Linked DNA regions of Homo sapiens: all the other regions are linked to region 1. The links are contacts of gene promoters, found by promoter capture Hi-C in human tissues and cell types (Jung and others, 2019). All regions are on one chromosome and are shown on one strand. Each heading gives the region's core, a stretch centred on a gene start or on the middle of the fragment in contact. The rest is flanking DNA. Distances are from core to core; before and after follow the strand shown.

Region 1 (4,981 bases), core at 1,043-3,542:
TTATTTATTTTAATTACAGCCTAGGAGCATCTTGTAAGTTTTGAGTAGCACACTTAGAAGAAAACTCACATATAAATCAGTGAATTTAATTTTATTCCCTTTCTTTCTTGCCAACACTCAACTCTTCTGCCTCTCTGCACCAGCTCTACAAATCAAGTGACATCCAAAGTGGGACCTCTTCTTGCCCATTTGGCAGCCTCTGTCACCACTTTGCCAAGCAGCCAGCATTAGGAGGATTTTTTTTTTTCCTAGCAACCCTAGGGATTGGGTGGTGTGTACTCACAGTACTCGCTGAATGGCTGGCCGCTGTTTAACCCTGCGGGTGCCTCCTCAACACCCCTCCCCCACCTCCCAACCCTTTAGAGTTTATGGCTCCATCAGCTGGCCTGCTGTCACGAATAATTGTCTTGGCAAGAGGTGAAACCACTTGATGGTGAATTTGTTTGTCTGTCTGTTAAAGTGTTCCGCAGCACCTTGGAGGTGCCAGGATGAAACATGCAAATGCCTGATCCAGAGTTAGGTAGGCAGCAAGAGTGACAGAGAGGCAATCATCAAGAATGGCAAATTAAGAAAGAAAGAAAGAGAGAGAGAGAAAGAAAGAAAGAAAGAAAGAAAGAAAGAAAGAAAGAAAGAAAGAAAGAAAAGAAAAGAAAAGAAAAGAAAAGAAAGAAAGAAAGAAAAAACCATCTGTGCCAGTTGCAAGCTGTATGACCTTGGATAAACCATGATGTCTCTTGGCCTCAGTTTAGTCACGTGCAAAATTAAGGGGGTTGATTTTCTAATGTCTCTTCTAACTCCTAAGACAGCATGTGATGTCTAGGACATTTCAGATTTGTGTTCCTTCCAATTAAATGATACATCTCAGAGATGAATGACCAGGGCAGAGCTCAGATGAATACAAAATGGAATGATTCATGCCCCTGTTCATATGACTTTTCCTGAAAAGTACCACCAGTCTTTGGTGACTTTGATTCCATTGGTTGGCCTCTTCAGCTTAGATGCTAAGGACCAATCCAGTTACTTGTCCAGTCTATCTACCCTGGCTCTGGTAATCCACCCTCATTCCTATCAAAGTAAGTGCCACTACATATAATGCCTACTGATTTTGACTTCCTTAGAGGCAGAAACGATGGGAATTCAAACAGTGGAGCTGGAGACTCACATTTGACTCTCCCTACCATCTCCCTGGGCATCTTTGTCAAGAAGGAAGGCTTGCCCACACTCACTTCCCGCAGGCTTTCTCAGCCATCTTGGAGGACTTTGTTTAAACAGATGACCAACTGACCCTCCCCAGGGCAGACCCTCTACAGACCAGTAGGCACAAGGTGTGTGTGTGGGGAGGTGGGGGGAGAGCTCATTGTAAGGACTCCTATCTATAAATGATTATGAATAGAAATAATGAGGCAAAGGCTTCTCGTCATACTCAGAGGAAAAAGTGGCACAACTTAGTGCAGTCTCAAAGATTAATTAGGATGTGTGTATGGAGACGGGTAGGCTTCATTATGGCTTAAACTATCACGTCCCTACACATTCACACTCTCTTGGAGTGGGGTGCACTGCAGGGCCCAGTAATCACCATGAACAGCACAAGTCAGGGTAAGCCCTCCCCATGTCAGACAGTACAATCGTTCTTTAATCCACTCTGTACCCCATATGTATCTGTGGAGCCTGATGAAGCCCCGGAGGGATCTCAGTCAAGTCTCCCTGCACACAGACATACCTTTTTGCCACACTGGATCTCACACCACCGGGACTTGGATGGCTTCCCAAACTAGGTGGGTTTGGAAAGCATTTCCCCTCTCCACCTCAAAAAAGGGCTGGCTGACTGCAGAATTCCAGTACCCGCAAGAGGGGGAAAAAACCCCAAAAATCTTAGCCAAGCCCCAAATCATTGCCTTCCTGTGTCTTCTCTCAAGTTGCTTTTCTAAAGCAAAGGTCCAAACGTTGATTTCTCTACAGATTCCTACGTATCTCTTACACGTAGACAGTTTTAAAGGGGAAAAGAATATATCCCCAAAAGGCAAGGGGGAGAGCACAGAACATTTCAGTTTCCCACTTGGAAATATCTTGTCGTGGATGATGCTACCCCTACCTCCACCTCCCTCCCCCCTCCTTTTTTTTTTTTTTTTTTTTTTTGAAATATGGACAAAAAAGCTGAAAGTGTTTTCCGTTTCATCAAAAAACATATATTACTTTAGTGGTTCGGTAAAATGTTGGTTTTATGCCCACCCCTTTTCAATCTGCCCATGTCTGAGGTGCTCGGGGAAGACGCACAATCGTGAGCAGCTTACGACACTCAGTGAGCAGTAGGTGCCTGTGCAAGCTCGCGCCGCACACTGCCTGGTGGAGGGAAGGAGCCCGGGCGCCGCTCGCCGCTCCCCGCGCCGCCGTCCGCACCTCCCCACCGCCCGCCGCCCGCCGCCCGCCGCCCGCAAAGCATGAGTGAGCCCGCTCTCTGCAGCTGCCCGGGGCGCGAATGGCAGGCTGTTTCCGCGGAGTAAAAGGTGGCGCCGGTCAGTGGTCGTTTCCAATGACGGACATTAACCAGACTGTCAGATCCTGGGGAGTCGCGAGCCCCGAGTTTGGAGTTTTTTCCCCCCACAACGTCACAGTCCGAACTGCAGAGGGAAAGGAAGGCGGCAGGAAGGCGAAGCTCGGGCTCCGGCACGTAGTTGGGAAACTTGCGGGTCCTAGAAGTCGCCTCCCCGCCTTGCCGGCCGCCCTTGCAGCCCCGAGCCGAGCAGCAAAGTGAGACATTGTGCGCCTGCCAGATCCGCCGGCCGCGGACCGGGGCTGCCTCGGAAACACAGAGGGGTCTTCTCTCGCCCTGCATATAATTAGCCTGCACACAAAGGGAGCAGCTGAATGGAGGTTGTCACTCTCTGGAAAAGGGTGGGTAAGACACTTTTTAATTAAATTCTTTCCCGAAGATTTTTTTTTTCCTCCCTTTTCTTTGCTGCAGCATCTAACATGGACCAAATCACCATCTCTTTGATCTTTCCGTGGCTGTGAACTTTCTATGCTGCCCAGCTTTCTGCATGCTTAGAGGTGAACGTGTGGTTTTTGGGGAGGGGGGTCCTTCTTTATTTCTATGTATTTATTTGATTTTTTGCCCTTTTCTCCCCCTCCCCCGCTTCCCCTCCCTCGGAATAAAATATGATGTAGATTTCTGACCGAGCGCTTCCAATGGACATTCTCCAGTCTCTCTGGAAAGATTCTCGCTAATGGATTTCCTGCTGCTCGGTCTCTGTCTATACTGGCTGCTGAGGAGGCCCTCGGGGGTGGTCTTGTGTCTGCTGGGGGCCTGCTTTCAGATGCTGCCCGCCGCCCCCAGCGGGTGCCCGCAGCTGTGCCGGTGCGAGGGGCGGCTGCTGTACTGCGAGGCGCTCAACCTCACCGAGGCGCCCCACAACCTGTCCGGCCTGCTGGGCTTGTCCCTGCGCTACAACAGCCTCTCGGAGCTGCGCGCCGGCCAGTTCACGGGGTTAATGCAGCTCACGTGGCTCTATCTGGATCACAATCACATCTGCTCCGTGCAGGGGGACGCCTTTCAGAAACTGCGCCGAGTTAAGGAACTCACGCTGAGTTCCAACCAGATCACCCAACTGCCCAACACCACCTTCCGGCCCATGCCCAACCTGCGCAGCGTGGACCTCTCGTACAACAAGCTGCAGGCGCTCGCGCCCGACCTCTTCCACGGGCTGCGGAAGCTCACCACGCTGCATATGCGGGCCAACGCCATCCAGTTTGTGCCCGTGCGCATCTTCCAGGACTGCCGCAGCCTCAAGTTTCTCGACATCGGATACAATCAGCTCAAGAGTCTGGCGCGCAACTCTTTCGCCGGCTTGTTTAAGCTCACCGAGCTGCACCTCGAGCACAACGACTTGGTCAAGGTGAACTTCGCCCACTTCCCGCGCCTCATCTCCCTGCACTCGCTCTGCCTGCGGAGGAACAAGGTGGCCATTGTGGTCAGCTCGCTGGACTGGGTTTGGAACCTGGAGAAAATGGACTTGTCGGGCAACGAGATCGAGTACATGGAGCCCCATGTGTTCGAGACCGTGCCGCACCTGCAGTCCCTGCAGCTGGACTCCAACCGCCTCACCTACATCGAGCCCCGGATCCTCAACTCTTGGAAGTCCCTGACAAGCATCACCCTGGCCGGGAACCTGTGGGATTGCGGGCGCAACGTGTGTGCCCTAGCCTCGTGGCTCAACAACTTCCAGGGGCGCTACGATGGCAACTTGCAGTGCGCCAGCCCGGAGTACGCACAGGGCGAGGACGTCCTGGACGCCGTGTACGCCTTCCACCTGTGCGAGGATGGGGCCGAGCCCACCAGCGGCCACCTGCTCTCGGCCGTCACCAACCGCAGTGATCTGGGGCCCCCTGCCAGCTCGGCCACCACGCTCGCGGACGGCGGGGAGGGGCAGCACGACGGCACATTCGAGCCTGCCACCGTGGCTCTTCCAGGCGGCGAGCACGCCGAGAACGCCGTGCAGATCCACAAGGTGGTCACGGGCACCATGGCCCTCATCTTCTCCTTCCTCATCGTGGTCCTGGTGCTCTACGTGTCCTGGAAGTGTTTCCCAGCCAGCCTCAGGCAGCTCAGACAGTGCTTTGTCACGCAGCGCAGGAAGCAAAAGCAGAAACAGACCATGCATCAGATGGCTGCCATGTCTGCCCAGGAATACTACGTTGATTACAAACCGAACCACATTGAGGGAGCCCTGGTGATCATCAACGAGTATGGCTCGTGTACCTGCCACCAGCAGCCCGCGAGGGAATGCGAGGTGTGATTGTCCCAGTGGCTCTCAACCCATGCGCTACCAAATACGCCTGGGCAGCCGGGACGGGCCGGCGGGCACCAGGCTGGGGTCTCCTTGTCTGTGCTCTGATATGCTCCTTGACTGAAACTTTAAGGGGATCTCTCCCAGAGACTTGACATTTTAGCTTTATTGTGTCTTAAAAACAAAAGCGAATTAAA
Region 2 (4,981 bases), core at 1,280-3,779, 73 kb before region 1:
AAAAAAAAAAAAAAAAAAAAAAGTACATCTCGAACAGTGCAAGACATTGATGAATGGCTGCTAATGAAAACTTTTACGTAACTTAGGTCCTCAGGGTGCTGCTGCTGGTTAAATAGTGGTAAATGGTGGCTAAAAAATGAGAAAATAAATAGGAGAGTCTTAGACTCAATAGTCCATAGGCTTAAAACTGTTAATAGGAGATAGTTATAACAAATGAAGATTCCTGGTCCCTTTCCCAAAATACTCTGTTTCAGTATCTCTAGGGTAGGGCATGGAAATTTTCCATTTTAATAAACATTTTTAAATTATAGATAAATTCTTGAAACAGGAGGATAGTTCAATGGGTTTCAAACCAACAAATCATTTGATTAATCAATCTCTCCAATTGTGGCCTAGGAATCTGTATTTTCATATTTCCTTCAAAATTCCATTGTTTAACCTAATTTGGGAACTTATTTTTGTAACCATTTACTGGAAGTACACCTGAAATAGAACCAAAATCCACAATTATGGCAATTCTGCTTAATTCCCAGTGAATTAGTCACTATATCTAAAAAAACCCAAGAGATTCATAATCAAACCACTTAATTAGAAGAGAAAAGCCACACTTTCTGACACACTAAAACAATACAGGCTAGGCATACCCTGTAACAACATTTCAAAAAAAGTCCCTGCACAAAGAAAGAAAAAGCTATACCAGCTTCCCAAATTCTTTGACTGTTATTGTCATATCCACCTGTAGACATCAAATAAGGTTAGCTGAGACGATGGACAAAGAGATAAAAGTGACTGCTGATCTTACTAAGGCATAAAGAGCTTAAGAAACTTTTGCAAGTTTACAAAAGTAAAACAAAAAACCAGGATCCTGATACAGGCAATATTTCAGAGCTTCTGCTTGTAAACCTGTCTACACTATGCTGATTTCCTAATATTTTAAGAAAATTCACTCCCAAGTTCCTCTTTCTATGATCCCAACCTTTCCGTTCCCTTGTAATTATGCCCCAGCCCTCAAGAAGAAGAGTTTCTCTGAGCACCCCATAATAATCTCCTAAATCCCACTTCTGCCCTCTTCCCCATCCTGAAGCATCCTCTACAGCCAAGATAAAACCCTGCCTCTCCCTGACCCCAGAGCCTACACAGAACTCTCTTCCCGATACCACGACAGATCAGTGCTTTCTGATGTCGGGCAGACAAAGAAAGCCCTGAATAGCCTTCTTGGGGAAAGCTGGCACCAAGTGGTCTCACCCCGCATCCCTCATAGTCAGATACCTGGCTGTAGCTACTCCCTGTCTTCCAAGCCCTGATGAAAAAGGCAAGAGTAGGGCTAAAGGTGGGTGCTTGAAGCTTCTCTGTTCACTCAGAATAAGCTGAGGGGAATGAACTATTGTTGCTTCTAATTATGTCATCGGCCCTATGGAAAACTGGATTTTTAACACTGATTATAGGAAACTATTGGAGTAGGTTGACAATAACTCCTAAACTGCTGATGATGCATTTGTTAATCATATATACAACACAGCAGAGTAAAATAAAAATGTTGTGATCATGCCTTGCATTTGAATGTGTGCATATGAATGAATGTGTGTGTGTGTGTGTGTGTGTGTGTATACTGCAAGTTCATGTGACATTATGTCTTCTCTGTTATTTATTTATTTATTTATTTATTTATTTATTTATTTATTTATTTATTTTTTGAGACAGAGTTTTGCTCTTGTTGCCCAGGCTGGAGTACAATGGCGCAATCTCTGCTCACTGCAAGCTCCGTCTCCTGCGTTCAAGTGATTCTCCTGCCTCAGCCTCCCAAGTAGCTGGGATTAAAGGCGCGCCACCATGCCCGGCTAATTTTTTGCATGTTTAGTGCAGAGACGGGGTTTCACCATGTTGGGCAGGCTGGTCTCAAACTCCTGACCTCGTGATTCGCCCACCTCGGCCTACCAAAGTGCTGGGATTACAGGCTTGAGCCACCTGCGCCTGGCCCCCTTCTCTGCTATTTGTAAGCAGGTACTCTCCCAGTAGATAGAGTTTAAACTATGTCAGGGAGAGACCACATCTCCCAGTGTCAGGCACAATGCCCCCAAAAGGAGTTTCCCTTGTACTCAATAAAGTCTTGTAGTGACATTAGACTTGGGAGTCAAAGAATGTTAAGGCCAAGTTTCCTCTGGCCACAGATGAGAGATGGGACCATAGATGACCGAGGAAGATAAATTCCAAAATCTTAGTTCTTCCAGAATCTCATACCAACCTGCTTATTTGCATCCAGAGCTACCTATCCGGCCATGTGTCGCCATGGAAAGCCATAGTGCTAGCTCCAAGGTTCATCTTAGTCTCCTAGAAGGCTTATGACACTAAGACTTAGGGTGGGGAAAGACGGATGCTTTGATAAATAAATCAATGTTATCTCATTTTACCTTCTTATGTAAAATCACAATGCAAATGCAATTTCCAGTCTTCCTACCTCCTCAACCTTCATGCTCTCCCACATGCCTTCCTTTCCTTCCAAGAGCTTTCGAAGTAGACACAGACTTACATTACATCTCAGCTGCTCAGCTGTGTGAGGCTGGGCAATTTTCCTAAACTCACTGAATCTCAGTTCTCATCTGCAGAATAGTGAAAATAATGCCTAACCCAAGATTATGGTAAAAATAAGAAAATGCATACAACATGTCTATCTCTGAGTCTAGCATGAAAATGGTATCCAATAAGCAAATTCCTTACCCTGATCTTTTCCTCTTGTGATAGTAAGCTTCCTAAGGAAAGGCACAGTGCCAAGAATCTGAACTATGGATAAATGGAAGACAGATGGATTGAATGTCTAGGGAGAATAAATTGTTTTATAGGCTGGATCTGGATTTACCAAGACTTGCCATTTGGAAATCTTTGAGCATCTGAGTAATATTTAACACTTGTGAAATTTTCACCAAGTTAAAATCCATTCATGACATACTCATATATGAGGCAAATGAAAAAGGAGAACCAGACATTGACCCTGATATTTCACTTCTATAGTCCAGTCATGAGGAATTCAAGCTCTGACAACCGTGGTAGCTTCTACTGGGGAAAGATGGGGAGCAAATGCTGGGGACTGATTCCTCCTTTTCAGTCCTCTGCATGGGTAATGAAATCAGTAATGAACACACCTCACTGATGATTGTAATCAAACTGAGCACCTGTAACTGCCAGAAAGAGGGAGATCCCCCAAGCATCAAGAGTGGATTCTATTTCAGTCACCCTCACTTGGCATATCAAGGAAGGGATGGCCTTGCAGAAATTAGAAAGCCAGATGCAGCAGGCTTTCCATGTCTGCCCCACACTGATGGGGAGTCCTCGAAGGGAATTGCTAATCACTTATACACACCTCAGAAGGTAGCAGCCTCCAGAGCTGGGTCTGAACAGCAAGAAAAACATTCTTTTCTAAATGTCCTCTCCACCATGATGCAAAGTCTAGAGATCTATCTATCATTCTTTAATGTACAATTCTTTATTGTAACTCATTTGTAATGACTCCAGAAGTTCCCTGCTAAAACACTAATAAAACTAAGAAGGATGTTACATAGACAATTTACTTACCGTTTTTTTTTTTTTTTCCTGTTTCTACCATTAGCCTATAAACCTCAATTAGGAACTTCATCTCTCTAGTTTGCTGGCATGTCTACTAAGTCCAGTAGCTGGCAAAAGTTTCTTAATGAAGGTGTGACCTAAAATGGTTGTCATTCTAGAAAATAGACAGCTGTTCCCTAAACAGATAGAATAGAAAGGCAAGATGGAAACCTCTGTGTGAAGGGTGGGAGAAGAAAACTTAAAGAGTTAAATAAAACAAACTCTGGTCCCATAGGAAATCAGTTCATTAGGAATTTAGGATTTAGGAATTAGACATATGTATGACTCTAAACAAAAAACTGAGGGGAAAAAAAATCAAATAATGGTAGAGATGTGGGAGGGGCAAAAAAAAGATTCATTTTTATAGTTTAAGGCAAAGAGTGACTCAGACCTTCAGACCTTATCCTGGAGCTTCTGTGTGCTGTGGTGGATCCAAAGCAGGAACTACCAAGGGAATAAAACTGGCCAGAGATCCCATTTCTACTACCAAAATAGGAGGTACTTAGAGGAAGTCAGAAAGGGAAGCCAGAAACCAGGAATCAAAAGTGAGTAAAAAGTCCTGAGTAAAACCAGCTATAAGTCTGACTTGAAGGCCAGGCATGGTGGCTCATGCCTGTAATCCCAGCACTTTGGGAGGCCGAGGCGGGTGAATCATGAGGTCAGGAGATCGAGACCATCCTGGCTAACACAGTAAAACCCTGTTTCTACTAAAAATACAAAAATTAGCTGGGCATTGTGGCGGGCGCCTGTAGTCCCAGCTACTTGGGAGGCTGAGGCAGGAGAATGGCATGAACCTGGGAGGCGGAGCTTGCAGTGAGCTGAGATCACGCCACTGCACTCCAGCCTGGGCAACAGAGTGAGACTCCATCTCAAAAAAAAAAAAAAAAAAAAGAAGCCAGAAACCAGGAATCAAAAGGTAGTAAAAAGTCCTGAGTAAAACCAGCTATAAGTCTGACTTGAGGGTGGGTCACCATGTTATGGGTTCAAGTCTTTTCATTACCTGTACAGAAGCCAGACTGGTGCCAAGCTCAAAGTTTCCTGGCAATCCACCCCTATCCCCACAACCTACATGTAAACAAACACAAAGCCAGGTTTATAAGAACCAAACTGTATACCTCCCTTCCCCCTCTCTTCCTCATCCTGAGAGCTCCATAGAAATCCCTACCTCCTGGGGAGGCCCTTTTCCCTCCAGAGGACCTCCTGTGCCTTTCCCGAGGCTATCCCAACCCTCTCTTCTCCCTTGTGTCCGTTCTCCTGTGATTAACCAAAGCCTGTTAAATGGAAAACAAAGAAAGAACTTCCAACCTAATAAACATTAAATACAGTCTGAGTATCATAATTTTGTTTTCTTAAGCACAGTGACTCCAGGGGTAGAAGGAGTAGG
Region 3 (4,981 bases), core at 1,269-3,768, 66 kb after region 1:
GGCAAATTCCTGAATATACATACCCTGATGCTACTTCAGAAAATGTACCCAACACATCCATGTTTTACATTATATGTTAACTCCCTCAAACAGTTAAATCCTGTCTCTTCCTAAAAACCCAGGTTGAACCTTGGCTCCACAGTGAAGATTTTAATGATCTTACATTCCCATATGAGATCTTCTTGCCTCTATACCTATAAATTACACTATGGTATTAATGATGAAGGAGCAAAAAAAACAGAATCATGTAACAGAGAGAATTTTTTTCCCGGGGTTATTAATGCTGTGTGGGAAGGAAAGAGAAACAAAGATTTGGACACAAAATGAGTACGAATATATGTTAATGTACCATGGGAGCCAAAGAGATTGGGTGGGTTTCACAGGGCTATACTCGAGAGATAATTTGAGCAAGTAATCTGGTGAGAAGGAGTGGGACTACGGTGCACATATCTGTGGAGATGGCTGGAGGCAGGAATAGCAAGCAATTTCCGTGGAAACATTAAAGATTGAGTGTTGCAGGGGAAACACAGGGTACTAGCATTAACACCATAGAAGTTCTCAAATCTGGGTTGAGTTCAAGTTATTTTGTGTATTCTCTAAGATATCCTAAAGCCAAGGCCAAGTGATGACTTATGTTGTTGATCATTATTTCATGTGTGTCTTAGAGTCACCACTTAGATTGGACAGGGACTTTGTTCATCCTTCTCTAATACCTTCCATTGGGATGAACCAGAACTCAGCTCACTGAGGGTGTTCAATACTCATTGCTGGGTTCTCTGAGTACCACCTAAGAGGTATGTAGGATGCCCATATGGTAGTCCCCACTTATGCACGCTTTCACTTTCCAGAGTTTCAGCTAACTGTGGGCAACCATGGTTCAATGACATGAAATGGAAAATTTCAGAAATAAACATTCACACAGCTTTTATTACAGTATATTGTTATGACTTTGTTTTGTTTTGTTTTGTTTTTTGTTTTTTTTTTTGAGATGGAGTCTTGCTCTTGTTGCCCAGGCTGGAGTGCAATGGAGCGATCTCGGCTCACTGCAACTTCTGCCTCCCAGGTTCAAACGATTCTCCTGCCTCAGCCTCCCGAGTAGCTGGAATTACAGGCACATGCCATCACGCCTGGCTAATTTTTGTATTTTTAGTAAAGACGGGGTTTCACCATGTTGGCCAGGCTGGTCTCGAACTCCTGACCTCAGGTGATCCACCCACCTCAGCCTCCCAAAGTGCTGGGATTACAGATGTGAGCCACCACGCCAGGCCATAACTATTCTATTTTATTATTAGTTATTGTTGTTCATCTTTTACTGTACCCGATTTATAAATTAAACTTTGTCATAGGTATGTATAGAAAAAAATAGTGTATAGAAAAAAAACAGTGTACTATTAGACCTCCACTGCGGGGCTTGGAACGTATTCCCCGTGGATAAGAGGGGGGCTATTGTATTTGCTTCAACTTAACAAATATATTTATACATATGCCCACACACTACATACAATCACAAACACACTCCCCACACACATACACAAACATCCCCACATGATACGTAAATGACTTTCTGACAATCACCCAAGTTTCGCATAGCTAAGCTGGGGGTGGTTACCCAGGTCTCAACTCTAGGCCAAAAGCTATTTTCAGCACTGAAATTCTCCCAGCATGAGAGCACTCTTCAGAGTACATCAAAAGTAGTATCTCATGGAAGAACTTTATCTAGAACAGACGTCTTAAAAATAGCATAATAATTGTAATCTTTAAATACACACATGGATGGAAGACGTAGAATTGGTTACTATATTCAATTATCCTCATACTCAACTTCATCTAATCCTGAGCTGGATGAATTGTTTAAGTGAAAAATTATGTTGTCTTCAGGCTAAAAATCTTCCCCTGCTCTGAAATATTTTACGCCCCCTCTTAACATTTTTATAACAATTAGCTTCTATTGTGAATACGGACTATATTAAGCCTCCCAGCCGACAGATCAGCATGTTGTTCCCCATTCTGCCACTAGGTGGCCGGTAGTAATTGATCTGATTTATCCCTGTGGCGTGAATTCCCAGGAGTGAGACTTAGAGACAATTCCGGATGTTTCTACCGTGTTGATGTCCTGTGGGGAAGCCAGTTTTACTTTACTTACCCTAATGACTATGTCCCTTCCCCCATTCCATCCCTCTATTTCTCTTTCAGAGCAAAGTGCTCTTTAACTTTTACGCTAGCTTCAGGATGTTTCATAAGCAAAGAGGTTCACTTTCTTCCAGTTAAGCTATGGGACTTGTCAGGAACTGTTTCATGTTCTTATTTTCTCTGAGTGAGCTATCATTATGCAGGGGCCTCTCTGCAGGCTGTCTACAAAATCTCTTTCACATCTGCATGGTTAACATCCTCCGTACTTCTCCTCCTCATTCCCTTTCCCAGCTTCATAATAAAAAGGCACATCAGCCTGTAACAAACTCTTGTCAAGACTCAAGGGCTTCTAATTAATTCCTTGTAATGTTATTTCTTATATCAATTAACTCCTGGGGAACCAGCAACTCCCTGTCAAGGCCAGCTCTTTACAACTGCAGAGTGGAAGTCTTTCTGTGCAGGAAGTGGCTACATGAACTCGACTGCACAACGTGCTGTCAGCCCCTCCTTGCCTGCCATGCCGCCATTCCCCTTGCCCTGGAGCCTCAAATGATCTTGAGTAAAGTCATTCCTTGAGGTCACAGAGTCATAAATGGACTTTTATTTCTGGATTCTCCTTGTGAGAATGCACTATTACAGTCCAGAACAGTGCTGGAGCCAGGGGAGGGAGTCTTACCAGTTCCTTCCTCTAGATGAGGTATGCTCATTCCTTAAAGCTTGTCCTTGGACGGCACAGATACCTAAATGTAGCTTTAAGAGACACGTCAGGGGAGTGGCTAGGGGGAGCAAGAAAAAGAAGTGTCAACTTAGAGAAGGTGCTGGACCAAGAAGAGTTGTCACCAACTGGGTATCCAGAATGAGCACCTTAGGAGAGGGTCCAGGCAGCCCTTCAATGAAGGGCAGGTTGAAGACCAACTCAACCCACCACCACTTTGCCCAGGATATAGAGTCTTCATAAAGCAAATCCTTTCATTTTCTTGCTTCATTTCCCAATCCTGAGTTTCATATTCAGGACAGAATTTTAAGAACTCATGCCTATGAAACATCAATGCAGATCCTTAGAACCTTGTAGTTGGAGGAGGTATTTAAAGTCTTGTTGCCCAGGGTAGGGCTATGCAGGTGTCTGTTCCACAGGTGCTTCCTCTGGCATCCAGTCTCACTAGCCCCTTCCACTGTGAAGGCCTGGCACATTTTGGAGTTAACAATGGTAACAAAAAAGGAACAAGAGTACCTCTCCTACTACTATTGCCAAGAACCACCACTGAGAAAACACAACAGTCAGTCTTTAGGTTTCCTTACACCTATGTATAGATGCTCCTCAACTTACAATGAGACACATCCTAATACACCCATCGTAAGTTGAAAATATTCTACATTGAAAATACATTTAATACCCTGATAAACCCATCCTAAAGTCAAAATATCATGCATTGAACCATTGTAATTTGGGTACTGTATGTATTTTGAACAAACACATTATTCAATTTTTTAGCAAAAATGCAGACATTTAGTAACATATCCAAGGTAACCACATTGGATATTAGCAGGGCTGGGACCAGTGTCTCCATATGCTTGACTCAATCATATAGAATATTCCTTCTCTTGTATGACTTGTAAGACACTTATTCTGAACTCATGTCTTTGTGGCTGTGTTTTCTGATCTAAGGATGAGGTTACATGGACTGACAATGGGAAGGGATCCTTGAAATTTCAGGGTAGTACCAGCTGTTGAGATGACACAAATGAAAACTGTGCATTTCTTTCAATATGTTACTGCTTTCTCTCTTAAAACAGAGGTTTGAAAAAGCTTCCTTCTCTTTGCTTTCCCTCTTAAAACAGAGGTTTGAAAAAGCTTCCTTCTCTTTTGTAGTGAAAAAGTCCATGGAGCCTATAAATTGGTGCCATCTCACATTTAATAGTGAGGAGAAGCCTACCACCATTGTGGATTCTCTGTGTCTGATTAGCCACAATGTTTTCCTTTTTGGGAATGAGCCCAGGAAAACTATTTCACTTATCCTAGTGATTTCACAGACATAAGGCTCCTTGACAGATAAATAAAAGCAAGTTCAAGTTCACTTGTGCAAACAGACAATAATCTATAGGCCTACTTTACTGTATTTTTAGACTGACTAGTTGTTCACTGAATCCATTTTCCTTTCCTCCTGCACACACTAGTAGATTACATTTCCCAGTATCCCTTGTGACAGACTGCTGCCTGAGTCTTCATTTGCAAGCAGGATAGGGAGGACTACAAGGCACTAAGTAATGAGAAGGCACAAGATGGAAAAAAGGCTAAGTAACAGTATGACTCTTTGGAAGAGACCACCCATCTCCCTCACTGCACTGCACTGATTTGACCAATAACGTCAACTCTCTTGAGAACTTCAGTGCAAGATACAGAAAGTGGGATTGCCATCATCCGAACGAGCAATCCCATTAATGGGTATATACTCAGAGGAATACAAATCACTCTACCATAAAGACACTTGCACACAAATGTTCAGTGAAGTACTATTCACAATAGCACAGACATGGAATCAACCTATATGCCCATCAGTGACAGACCAGATAAAGAAAATGTGGTACATATAAACCATGGAATACTACACAGCCATAAAAAAGAACAAGATCATGTCTTTTGAGAGAACATGGATAGAGCTGGAGGCCATTATCCCTAGCAAACTAATGCAGGAACAGAAAACCAAATACTGCATGTTCTCACTTATAAGTGGGAGCTAAATGATAAGAACTCATGAACACAAAGAAGGAAACAACAGACATTGGGGTCTACTGGAGGGTGGAGGGTGGGAAAAGGGAGAGCAGCAGACAAAATAACTATTGAGTACTGGGC

What was found. Contacts are between HindIII fragments. The study calls those that stand out against the background at their distance.
Region 2: a contact is called between a fragment that was not itself captured here and the fragment with the promoter of LRRTM1 in region 1, in 3 of the 25 tissues and cell types used here (mesendoderm cells, spleen and thymus).
Region 3: a fragment that was not itself captured here is called in contact with the fragment with the promoter of LRRTM1 in region 1 in 2 of the 25 tissues and cell types used here (heart right ventricle and ovary).

The regions. Positions count from the first base shown.
Region 1 is chr2:80,302,063-80,307,043 of GRCh38, reverse strand. LRRTM1 (leucine rich repeat transmembrane neuronal 1) reads left to right here and starts at 2,292. Exons shown (of 2, transcript NM_178839.5): 1 at 2,292-2,892; 2 at 3,166-4,981. The coding sequence starts at 3,225. The coding sequence ends at 4,793. All of the region lies in intron 7 of CTNNA2 (catenin alpha 2), which reads right to left. RefSeq lists an enhancer at 2,850-3,475. The HindIII fragment of the contact is 15,461 bases long and covers 1-4,981 here.
Region 2 is chr2:80,375,070-80,380,050 of GRCh38, reverse strand. All of the region lies in intron 7 of CTNNA2 (catenin alpha 2), which reads right to left. Among named protein-coding and RNA genes, the nearest start is that of LRRTM1, 73 kb to the right of the region's middle. The HindIII fragment of the contact is 4,258 bases long and covers 401-4,658 here.
Region 3 is chr2:80,235,917-80,240,897 of GRCh38, reverse strand. All of the region lies in intron 7 of CTNNA2 (catenin alpha 2), which reads right to left. Among named protein-coding and RNA genes, the nearest start is that of LRRTM1, 66 kb to the left of the region's middle. The HindIII fragment of the contact is 4,617 bases long and covers 210-4,826 here.